2 separate regions of the Homo sapiens genome follow, and region 2 is linked to region 1. Evidence: promoter capture Hi-C in 16 types of primary human blood cells and fetal thymus (Javierre and others, 2016). All regions are on one chromosome and are shown on one strand. The core of a region is centred on a gene start or on the middle of the fragment in contact, and the rest is flanking DNA. Distances in the headings are between cores, read along the strand shown.

Evidence for each region. Contacts are between HindIII fragments. The CHiCAGO score rates a contact against its expected background, and 5 or more counts as called.
Region 2: the fragment with the promoter of CNPPD1 here is called in contact with the fragment with the promoter of PECR in region 1 in 1 of 17 cell types (neutrophils); the score reaches 6.3 in neutrophils.

What each region holds. Positions count from the first base shown.
Region 1 is chr2:216,078,662-216,084,377 of GRCh38, forward strand. PECR (peroxisomal trans-2-enoyl-CoA reductase) reads right to left here and starts at 3,148. Exons shown (of 8, transcript NM_018441.6): 1 at 2,957-3,148. The coding sequence starts at 3,080. TMEM169 (transmembrane protein 169) reads left to right here and starts at 3,258. Exons shown (of 3, transcript NM_001142311.2): 1 at 3,258-3,318. RefSeq lists enhancers at 2,750-2,829, 2,860-2,909 and a silencer at 3,100-3,359. The HindIII fragment of the contact is 11,582 bases long and covers 1-5,716 here.
Region 2 is chr2:219,174,137-219,179,852 of GRCh38, forward strand. It overlaps CNPPD1 (cyclin Pas1/PHO80 domain containing 1), which reads right to left and starts at 2,789. Exons shown (of 8, transcript NM_015680.6): 1 at 2,624-2,789; 2 at 2,087-2,195; 3 at 1,455-1,536; 4 at 852-972; 5 at 642-770; 6 at 10-71. The coding sequence starts at 2,692. It overlaps RETREG2 (reticulophagy regulator family member 2), which reads left to right and starts at 4,139. Exons shown (of 9, transcript NM_024293.6): 1 at 4,139-4,497; 2 at 4,786-4,892; 3 at 5,597-5,627. The coding sequence starts at 4,217. RefSeq lists silencers at 2,411-2,705, 2,544-2,603, 2,724-2,933, 3,004-3,053, 4,044-4,123 and 2 more and an enhancer at 3,834-4,334. The HindIII fragment of the contact is 4,554 bases long and covers 1,739-5,716 here.

The sequences.
Region 1 (5,716 bases), core at 1,898-4,397:
TTGTGTATATATATTTTTAAGTATATGATGTCTTTTTCTCAAAAGACACGCCACCACTTTCATCAGAATCTCAGACAGATTCATGTCTTCCAAAAGATTACAAGACCAATGTCCTAATGTTTTAGTTTGTGGTAAGAAAAATATAGTCTATCACCTTATTCCAGGGGTGTAGTTTTTGGCCAATGCATATTTATGCAACAGGATGAAAGTTCAAATAGCACACTTATGCAACAGGATGAAAGTTCAAATAGCACACTTATGCAACAGGATGAAAGTTCAAATACATAAAAATCTATTAAAAATCCTTCAAAGTGGACTAGGGTCCTACGAATCTGCTGAGAAGCCTAGTATCTGACCTATGCATGAATTGATAACTGATTCTGATTTTCTTACAGATATTCCTGAAAGAGGATAGAGCTTGGTGTTGAGAATAAACTGGGCAGTAATGGTGATGAGGTTACATCATGGCCTTACTAGGAAATGTTTTTGCTTTTTTTTTTTTTTTTAACTAAAAACATAGATTTTTTTTTTTTAGTTCATACTGTGCCAGATGTTGGAAACACAGTCGTAACCAAAGATAATTTAGATGTTCATTAAAAAATATTTAAAAGACGAAGACAATTTTAATTACTCATAATTAACATTATTTTCAGAAAAATGGCTAAAAATCTTATAAACTTCCTTCCAGTCCATTTTTGCATATGTAATACTTTTTTTTTTTTTTGATACTGAGTCTTGCTCTGTCGCCCAGGCTGGAGTGCAGCGGCACGATCTTGGCTCACTGAAACCTCTGCCTCCCGGGTTCACGCCATTCTCCTGCCTCAGCCTCCTGAGTAGCTGGGATTACAGGCACACGCCACCATGCCTGGCTAATTTTTGTATTCTTAGTAGAGACGAGGTTTCACCATGTTTTCCCAGGCTAGTCTCGAACTCTTGACCTTGTGCTCTGCCCGCCTCGGCCTCCCAAAGTGCTGGGATTACAGGCATGAGCCACCGTGCCCGGCCCTGCATGTATATATTTTATTAAAAGTAAAATTGGGCCGGGCACGGTGGCTTACGCCTGTAATCCCAGTACTTTGGGAGGCCGAGGCGGGCGGATCACCTGAGGTCGGGAGTTGGAGACCAGCCTGACCAACATATAGAAACCCCATCTCTACTAAAAATACAAAATTAGCCTAGCAAGGTAGTGCGTGCCTGTAATCCCAACTACTCGGGAGGCTGAGGCAGGAGAATCGCTTGAACCCAGGAGGCGGAGGTTGCAGTGAGCCAAGATGGCGCCACTGCACTCCAGCCTGGGCAACAAGAGCGAAACTCCATCTCAAAAAAAAAAAAAAAGTAAAATTGGAATGCTATTAGGTTTAGAATTCTACTTTTCCCAATAATATGGTATGCATTTCTCCAAGTAAGTCTTCAATAGCAAGATATTTATTTATTTATTGAGATGGAATCTCGCTCTGTTGCCCAGGCTGGAGTGCAGTGGCTTGACGTCAGCTCATTGCAACCTCTGCCTCCCAGGTTCAAGCGATTCTTGCGCCTCAACCTCCCAAGTAGCTGGGACTACAGGTGTACGCCACCATGCCTGGTTTGTATTTTTAGTAGAAATGGAGTTTCACCATGTTGGCCAGGCTGGTCTCAAACTCCTGACCTCAGGTTATCTGCCCGCCTCGGCCTCTCAAAGTGCTGGAATTACAGGCGTGAGCCACTGCGCCAGGACCAATAGCAAGATATTTAAACGGAAGCATTATATTTCATTGTTATTGATTTAACTATTTTCCTTATATTGGATTTTTAGGTAATTTCCATTTTTTCACTACTCAAGACTACATCCTTGCATGAAAATCTTTGCTTGACTCCGTTTCCTTAAATTCCTGAAAAAGGAATTACTGTCATAGAGCATAAACATTGTGAAGGTTTTTGGATCTTTTTTTCCAAATTGCCTTCCAGAAAGTTTGTAATAATTTACATTCCTGCCTTCTCATTCCTGCATCAACACTTTAATTTTTCCCAACATTTCAAAATTTTGTTAGAAAAGTTAAATCTTACTGTTTCATATTTTATTACCAATAAAGTTGATTATTTTTTCATATGTTTCTTGCCTGTCTGTAGTTCTTCTTTTGGAACGCTTAGTCCATACCATTAGTCTAATTTTTCTATCAGTGTGTTGGATTTTTTCTTTATTTGTAAGAGCTCTTTATGTATAAGGCTGTTGGCCGAATCTAGTGGCTCAGCCTGTAATCCCAAAACTTTAGGACTCAGAGGCAAGGCAGGAGGATCCCTTGAACCCAGGTGTTCGAGACCAGCGTAGGCAACAGAGTGAGACCCTATCTCAAAACCAACAAACAATTTATCTTATGTTGCAAATATTTTTCTTCATATGCCTTTAAACTTTATATATTTTTTTAATTCAATGAGGATTTACACTTTCATACAGGTAGATTGATTTATGTTCTCCTTTGTGGTTTATTCCCTCACTTATGTGTTTACAAAGGCCTTCCTTCACCCAAGTTAAGGTAAATATTCAGCATATTTCCTTGCTGTGGTTAAGAGATGTGAGAAGATACTATGAGAGACTCACTATGTTCACAACTTTTTCCAGTTAAATGAAGTCTTCCCACGTTTCCTAATCACTCACATTAAGCATATAGAATGGATTAATTTTAAATCTGAATATAAAACTAATTGCACAGCATGTTTCACTGCTCTTCTTACTGCCTACCTGGGGCACAGTCTCTTTGGCCTGAGTGGTCTCTTCAGTTTTTAACGAGTGGCTCCACAATTCCTTAGGAAGAGCTGCTCTCTTCTGTCTCCCTGGTGGTCGTAATTTCGCCCACACCTGCCCCGTCTTTGCTCTGCAGCTCCACACTCCCTCAGCCCCGCCGAGAGCTCCTGGCTCCCGTCTCCAGGTTACCCCAGGTCACCACAGCCACCTCTCTGCACCAGCGGCCCGCTCACGTACCCAGCTCCAGGAGCTCCTTCACGATGGCTTTTCCGATGCCCGTGGCCCCGCCGGTGACGATGGCCACTTGGCCCTGCAGCAAACCAGGCGCCAGGTAGCTCCTGCCCTTAGCCCAGGAGGCCATCCCTGCAGCGGGGTGCCAGAGCAGCTGAGCGCAGGCCCTTCTGGGTCTCAGGGACATTCGAGGCGGGCGGGCGGACAGGGCGGTGCTCGAGCCCACGTGACCACCAGAACCCCGCACCCTCCCCGGCCCGGCCCCGCCCCGCCCGCCGGCCGCGGCAAAGCCGCATCCTCCCGGAGCAGAACCGCTCCCCGCCGGCTGTCCGCAACCTCCGCCAGCGTCGGTCCCTGGGCAGGTGTGGGTGAGACTGCTCGTTCGTTTCTTTAAATTTCGATGCCATTGGGGAGGGTGGAAGGGAAATGCAAAAAAAAAAAAAGAAGAAGAAAGAAACAAGCAGGGTGTGCTCTATTTCAAAAATTCAATCCTCAGGGCTGAAGCTCTCACGATTAATTAAAATTAAATCTCCAGTGCAGCTGGAAAAAGAAAGGCTGCTGCTCGGCGCCCTCGCTGCGCCCGCCTGCCGGGGTCGGACGTCGGCGATGCTGTGGCTCCAGGTGCTGTGTGCCGCTGGCTGGGAAGGGGAGAAAGGGCAGGCTTAGCTGAGGGGGAGAAATGCGGCTTTCAGATCCTTTCATCCTTCGGGAGGGAGCCCGGGAAAGAGAGTGAAGGGGAAGAGGAGATGCGGTTGCAGTTTTCCACAGAACCAAGAGAATAAACGATTTGAAAAAATAAACTCAGGCCCACCTCCGTCTCACCTCCCACTCCCCACCCAAGAATCAAGGGGAAAGATCATCTTTACCAGGTTTGAGACCTGATCCATTTCAGCTGAGCTGCATAGCGAGTCCAGAAGAGGATCTTTCCTTGAAGGGTGCACGCTTCCTGCAAGATGCATCTGTAGGTGTTTGAGATCATGTCCTGTAGTTCATTCCTTGTGCAGGAGGGTGAGCCCGCTGAGGATGGGGAAAATTTCTCGTCTGTGTTATGGTGCCCAGTAACAGTGATTTATTATTCAGATCTGCTCCTTATTTTTCATCTTGCTTCCCGCTCTGAACCCACCAGAGTGAGATTACACCTGGACTGGCCTACTGAGACTTCACCCTAAGAACTTGGTCGAATGTGCCAGTTGCTGTGGTCTTAACAATCCAGATGGGATGCTATTTCTAAGGCTGTTGTCAGAGTGTTGCATTTTCCCCGGACAGGTATTAAAATAATATAAAGGCAAATAAATGCCATCATCCTTTTGTTGGACCTACCACCTAGGATTCACAAAGCCAATTGGAAATGGGTCTGGTTGACAGAGGAATCAGACCATCACTTCCTCCACCAGGTCCCACCCACCAGCGAGGCTGCAGTTCTTGTTGGACAGCTACACTTCCCTGTTGCTCCATCCTCTTGTCCTTCTCTGATCTCTTTTTAGAATCACTTCTCCCTCTATCTTTGTTGCTGACAGATTCAAATCTACACTCGTTAAAGAAAGGAATAAATCTCCTGGTTACCATTTGCTAGATAGTTTATCCAGGAATCACTTAACTCTACTACTTAAGTCAATTCTGTAGTTAGGACCAAATTTTTAAAATTACAACGCCATCACCTCCTTTAAAACAAAGTAAATTCAAACAGGAAAGCTCAAAGTGTTGTTGCAGAAACATATAACTCCTCTTGGTTTGATCCCAATGACAAGGTGTTTTTTTTTAAGGAAAAGAAATATTGATTCAGTTCTGAGGGGTATCTTATTCAAGAGAAGTCCAGACTTTCTTTCTTGTGGGTGGGGACACTTTAAATTCTTTTAAATGATAACTTTATTGAAGATATAACTTAACATGATTTATGCCCTGGTCTGGACCTATAGATTCTTAGAGGTGTGCCAGGGTGGGTCAGTGGGAAGCTGGCTGTGCTGCAGCTTCCGTGTGGCTGCTGAGCGGACTGAGAGTGGGATTCTGATGTCTTCCAGTGAAACAGGGACTGGGGCCTGCAAACCGGTTATGCCTACTGAGGATGACAAGGTGCCATTCCTCAGCTGCAAGGAAGTTGCAGGATGAACAGTCAGAAGGCGATTTTTCATGATCCAGGCAGAACCTGCAATTAAGAGAGCTTTGGGGTCTCTTCAAGCGATCTTTTGTTTAAAATTAGGAGGCATGATCTCTTTGCCTCTGCCTCTGACCTCTGTCAGGGTTTGAAAGTCCACTAATCCGCTAAGTTCCAGGCCAAAAGGCCTGGAAGCAGAGCAATAGATCTGCTGCTTGGAAGCTCTTTGTTTTGAAATTTTAGTTCTGCCTCTGGTTGAGGCATCTCTTCCGAAGGCAACCACGCCATGCTGCACTGACCACTCCTTTGGTTGAATCAAATGCTGCTCTTCCCTGTGCTCTGCGTCACTGCCCTCTTTGTCCTGGGGAAAAAGGCATTCCTGTGGCCAAGGTCCTCCCACACCCCCGAACCTCTCCCCACAGCTCTGTCATACCCCATTAGCAATGACTGCCTTCAGCTTCCCACCCCTCCCCCACCCCATCTGCCTGGTAACTTTATTTTCTCCCCTCTGCAAAGCAGCTGCTAGCTCAGACTGACAGGGGCTTGTGGGATTCTCGACATTTAGACTCCCAGAATCTCAGTGCTGAGAGAATGTCAGTGAAGCATCTGGTCCTGCCCCTACCTTGAAGCAAAACTACCTAGCAATTGTGCCATAACAAGGCATATAAAGGAGC
Region 2 (5,716 bases), core at 1,539-4,038, 3.1 Mb after region 1:
AGAACCTACCAGCTCTCCAACCAGCTCAGCACCTCAAAGATCTCCCGAGGGTCAGTGTAGAGATGCCAATCCTGTGAGTACGGAGAGTGGACATCAAACCAGACTTGGATGAGCCACAGTCATTTAATAATAAGAGCCATAGCAGCAACTACAACCGCCCCTATGGCTAATGCATATTTGGCACTTACCATGTGCCAGATACTGTCTCAAAAGTTTTTACACATTAACTCATTGAATCACCACCTGCCTGGTTTCACATTATACTCTCCACTAAGCAAGAGGGGAGAAAATGACCCTGAGAATGGTCTGTGTCCACAGGGAGCTAAACATCTAGGGGCAGAGAAAGTATGGACACAAATATTCAGAACCCAATAGGATAAACTCTGACTCAGAGTGTACCCTGTGGGGCCCTGGAGGAATAGAGGAGGCGAGGAAATGTTCTGCTCTTGGCCTTACTGCTCTACGAATCTCCAAAAACTGGTTAGTACTGAAGAGATAGGAAAGGAAGACACTAACACAAAGGCAGGAGGAGGACAGGAAGAGAAATGACGAACCAACAGAAGACTGAGAGAGAACAAAGGACTAAAGGACGGTTAAAGATGGGCCAGGGAAACTGAGCAAGAGAGAGAACAGCTGCTCACCATGGCACTCAGGAAGCCCCTCTCCAAGGCATTGAGAGTGGGCACGGCCACACCCCCAGCAGCTCCCCATTCGTCGTTGAAGACCTCCTCCTCCTCCCCTTCATCATAGAGGTACTTACTGGCCACCATCTGCAGAGGAACCAGAAGTGGTGGAGCAGAGCTCATAGCAGGCTCTTGGCTCTTTAGGGAGATGGGGAGGGGGTGTCTTACCATGGAGATCAGGAACAAGTCAGAGGATGACACATGCTGCAAGTAGTCTGGGTTTCGGTGCCGGAGCCGTTCAATGTACACCAGAGCCAGCATCATAGCACATGGGGAGATGCATGCCTCCCTGGGTGGTAGAAAGGATCACTAATTAAACCCAAGGGTCCTTCAGCTCTTGCAAGTCTTATGATGCTCGTTCCTGTCTTTACCTCTTATCTTTGGAAAAAAACTATTCCTGGCTGGGCACGGTGGCTCATGTCTGTAATCCCAGCACTTTGGAAGACCAAGGTGGGTGGACTGACACCAGGAGTTTGACACCAGCCTGGCCAACATGGTGAAACCCCGTCTTTACTAAAAATACAAAAATTAGCCAGGGGCGGTGGTGTGTGCCTGTAGTCCCAGCTACTGGGGAGGCTGAGGCACAAGAATCACTGGAACCCAGGAGGCGGAGGTTGCGGTGAGCCGAGATTGTGCCACTGCACTCCAGCCTGGGTGACAAAGTGAGACTGTCTCAAAAAAAAAAAAAAGAAAGAAAGAAAAGAAAGAAAAGACGATTCCCCTTTCTCTAGGGCCCAAACACTCTCATCCTATCCTCATTTCCAGGCTCACCGGGACACATGAGCTACATATTTCTTCTGGAGTCGGCGAATAGGGCTGGGGGCTGCCTTCTGGAGCAGTTCGACAGCAATGTCTGCAAGGGACAGAAGGAAGGCCGAGTGAGCAAACAAGCACCCACACCCAACACACCAGTCCCCACTGCTAGCAGAAGACCCAGATCTGTATTTTCTGAGGCCTTGGGGACAGGACCATAGTAACAAAATAGAGATCAAATTCTCACACACTGAGACAAAAAGCCCATTCCAAGTTCGAATTTCAGCTCATTCTAACAGGAAAGCTTATTGCCCTGTCACATCAAACTATCCAGATTTATCTGTCACTGCTGTTCATCTGTGGCATAAACATGCCTTGTTTACTTGGGGAACATATGATGGATATCCTTCGAAAATTAGCTTTTCAATATATAAATCAAGAGTGATTTGTATAGATATATGTGGCAGCAATGTTTTTTATTCATTTGGGCTAAAAGAATGGGAAATGCAAACTGCCCTCTTGAACCAAGTACCAACGAGCTAGCAATGAAGAGACAGTGTAGCCACGGGGCAAACCTCGAGCCATTTTCTGCCTGATGACAATCCCATTTTCATGCTTCTCACTTGTCCAGTCACACAACACTGCCTAACCTGCCACCGGGCTGGAGAGCTCCTCCAGGCTACAGTCGGCTTCCCAGTCCCAGCCATAGTAGAGCCTCCTTCGGATCCGGGCACTCAGCTTCTGGTGTCCTGGGAGGAACTGAAACAGGGCAGGGGCAGCGGAGGGTGAAGGGCACGGAAAGGTATGATGCAGATCCTGGCTCTGGGCTGGAAGGCGGGGCAGGGGACAGGCCGGCCTCGCTGCTAGGGGGCCCGTGCCTTACCCAGACCCGCGTTCTGTAAATCGCTTGCCAATGGCAGCCTGGTCCATAGAGGGAGGAATGCCCCCACCCCCATCGAGGGTTCCCCGGGAGAAGTTCTCCGAGAAGGGCCCTCGTGTGGCCACCCCTACGCCCATTCCTATACTCCGCGGCTCTCCCTCCCGGCCCAAGCAGCCGCGGCCTCAAGGAAGCACTGCTCGAGCAGCTGCCGCCCAGTCCCGGCACAGCAGTCAGGCGAGCTCGCAGCGCCGCTCAGGCCGGGAGGGGCGCGCCGGGAGGCCGGGGAGGGGGCGGGACCCCCACTCACCGTGAAGTCCTGGAAGCCGGCGAGGGAGAAGGTGCCTTCTTCGTCCAGCAGGAGCCCGGTCAGGTCCATCGCGCCGCCAGTCGCCGCCCTGCGAAGGTGAACGGAAGGAAACGAGTTGTAGGGGGCTCGCGGAGCTGTCCTTGCCCGCCTGTCCACCTGCCAGCCTGCCTCCCCGGGGCGGGCCGCCGTCCTCGCCCTCGCCCTCGCAGCTCCCTCCCCCCGGCGGCGGAAGGCGGGGCCCGGGCTGAACTGGGCGCCTCTTCCTGTTCCGCCCCGGGCTTGGCGCGGCGCGCGGGGGCCCTAGGCCCGGGAAGGGAGGTGTCAAGCGTCCGTGCGACGCTCACCTCGCGGAGCAGAAAGGAGATGCGGCTGCGAGGCGCGTACTCCGCCTGTGCCGCGTCCGCCCGGCGTTTACAAGCCGCGGGGGTGCCGCCTGCAAGTCAGCGCCTGGCACTTCCTGCCGCCCATCTGGCCCAGCCTCCCGCCCCGACCCGCGGGCAGGAACCGGACTCGAACTCCTGGTCTCACGGAACGTGGCCAAGCCCCAGGCGCCTCTGAGAAATGGGGACAATTCGTAGGGGGGACCACGCCGCACTGAGGATGAACAAGCCAGGCGTAGCAATGGAGAAGTTAATGTGAATAAGACGAAACGCACAACAGGAAGTTGTTCCCAGTTGCTTTTTAGGAGAGATATTATACATACTCAGCAATGCATATGAAAAGCGTCTGAAAGGACACACAGGAAATTTAGCAGTGGGTGAACTATGAAAAGGAAGAGAAACTCAGGGTGTTTTTTTTTTTTACTGTAATTTGAACTTTTAAACCTAAGGCTACTGAGGAAATTCTGTGATCTTAAGCGAATGTAAGGCCTCAAAACGTGTCAACACGTCCACCCAAAAGTAAACTGCATCTACCCAAGGTTTTGTGTTGAAACCCACCTCCCGCCTCCGATCTCATGCTTGAGTAGGCCGAGGTGGGAAGAAGCTCCGATATGTGGAAGTGGGAAAGTTTAAGGAGATAGGAAAGAAACAACTTTTCTGAGTAGATGTTGTTTTCGAGTCTGTCGAGTCAAGCGCTGGTGTGTGTTTGTTTACCCACTGAGGGGAGGGAACTGGGAGGACCAGTGCGTTGAGGGTTGGTTGAGTAATGGGACGGCCACCGCCCTTCCCGAGCGAGCAGAAGCAGACCCTACCGGGGATACTGGGAATCTGGAAGCCCACTTCCTGCCCCACACGGGGATACCGGGGCAGCACCACACTCCCTAGCCGCCCTGCCTACTGTGGGATAAGAAAACGGGCTCGACTGCCTGGACCTAGACCCGGACTCGGAACCCGGGGTACTTCGTCAACCAGAAAACGAACCTGTGTAGGCGCAGTGTCAGCGGCAGCCGCCGGGGCGCATGCGCGGCCCGCCCTATCCGGGGGGGGGGGGGTTAGGCCGCGTCACGTGACGGGCTCAGCGCTCCGCAGTCACGTGACGCTCGTCCGCAACCTCTGCTGTCCTCCGCGGCGCCCCCTTCCGCCTGACGCGCCCCCGGCGGCGGCCGCGCAGCCCTGGCTCCTCGCGGGCTCGGGCGGCGGCTGCGGCGGGGCTATGGCGAGCGGCGGTGGCGGGGGTAACACTGGCGCGGGTGGGGGGCCGGGGATGGGCCTGAGCCTGGGCCTGGGTCTGGGTCTGAGCCTAGGCATGAGTGAGGCCACCAGTGAGGCAGAGGAGGAGGCGGCCACGGCCGAGGCGGTGGGACGCCTGGCCACGACGCTGTGGCTGCGGCTCCGCGGCTGGGAGGCGGTGCTGGCGGCGGCGCAGCGGTTGCTGGTGTGGGAGAAGCCGCTGCACAGCCTGGTCACGGCGGCCGCGCTCAACGGCCTCTTCTGGTAACGGCCGCGGAGGAGGGGGCGGGGCCGGGATGAGCGGGGGAGGGAGGGGTCGAGAGCACCATTCCCCTTTCTGGGTTATCACTTGGCCTGGGGGCATGACCCATCCCCAGTTTTTGCAGGCTGACATCCGCTTGAATTGCCCATTTTTTTCTATCTCTGAGTCGTGAGTCGCGAGTTAGGCCTGGAGGTGCCATTACCCCATCAGTAGGCGCCTTTCCACCTTCTGAGATGGATGCATGAGCCTGTCTCACCCACTCACTGCTGAGGTGCCTGTCTCTCCCTAAGGTTGCTGTCTTCCTCGTCCCTCCGGCCCTTCTTCCTACTCAGCGTCTCACTTTTGGCCTATTTTCTGCTGGATCTCTGGCAGCCTCGCTTTCTCCCTGACGTTTCAGGTGAGTGTTTCTTCATTCAGTAAGCACCCATTGGGTACTTGCTTGGTGCCTGATTCCGCTGGGTGGGGTTAAGTGGCGAGGGGAACGTACAGCAGGCCACCTGCCTCCCAGGCATGGCCCACTTCCTTTTTGTACGGAATTCCCTAAAATGAGAATTGCCCCTTTCCCAAACTAATACTACTGTAGGTGCAGTGGTTAAGATGGTGAAGTCTGCAGCCATATTACCTGGGTTCCATTCTCTGTTCTGCCATTTACCATTGCTGTGACCTTGTAAAAGTAGCTCAATTTCTGTTTGTCTCAATTTCCTTATCTGTAAAACACAGATGATAGAACTTACTTCATAGAGAGGTGAGGAGAGGATTAATGAGTTAATACACATGCTATACTTATGATAGTGTTTCACATATAAGCCTTATAAATAGAACGTCAGTGTTGTTTTTCTTGTTATCCATATAATTTACTTAGTAGGTGACAGGCTGTATGTGAGTTGCTTGGGAGATAAGCATGAGTAAAATCTAGTTCTTATGTTGGAGAAGGGTAATGTCTAAAGGAGACAGACGCAAACAAAAACATGTAACAGCTCCCCCATTGGCATCTGAAGAAGGTGCTCTGGGGCTGCAGAGGAGGGACAACTATTTCTGCCTTGGGGAGTGTCTCCCAGGGCCCCTACCACTCAATAATTTGCCCCCCTCCTCTCTCTCTAGCATCATCCCCAGAGGAGCCACACTCTGACAGGTGAGTACAGGCCACCTCTTGAAGACAAATGCCCACATCCTGTCCTGCTTGCTGGTGCCAGTGTCACCATGGAGCAGGGCAGTGCCCCA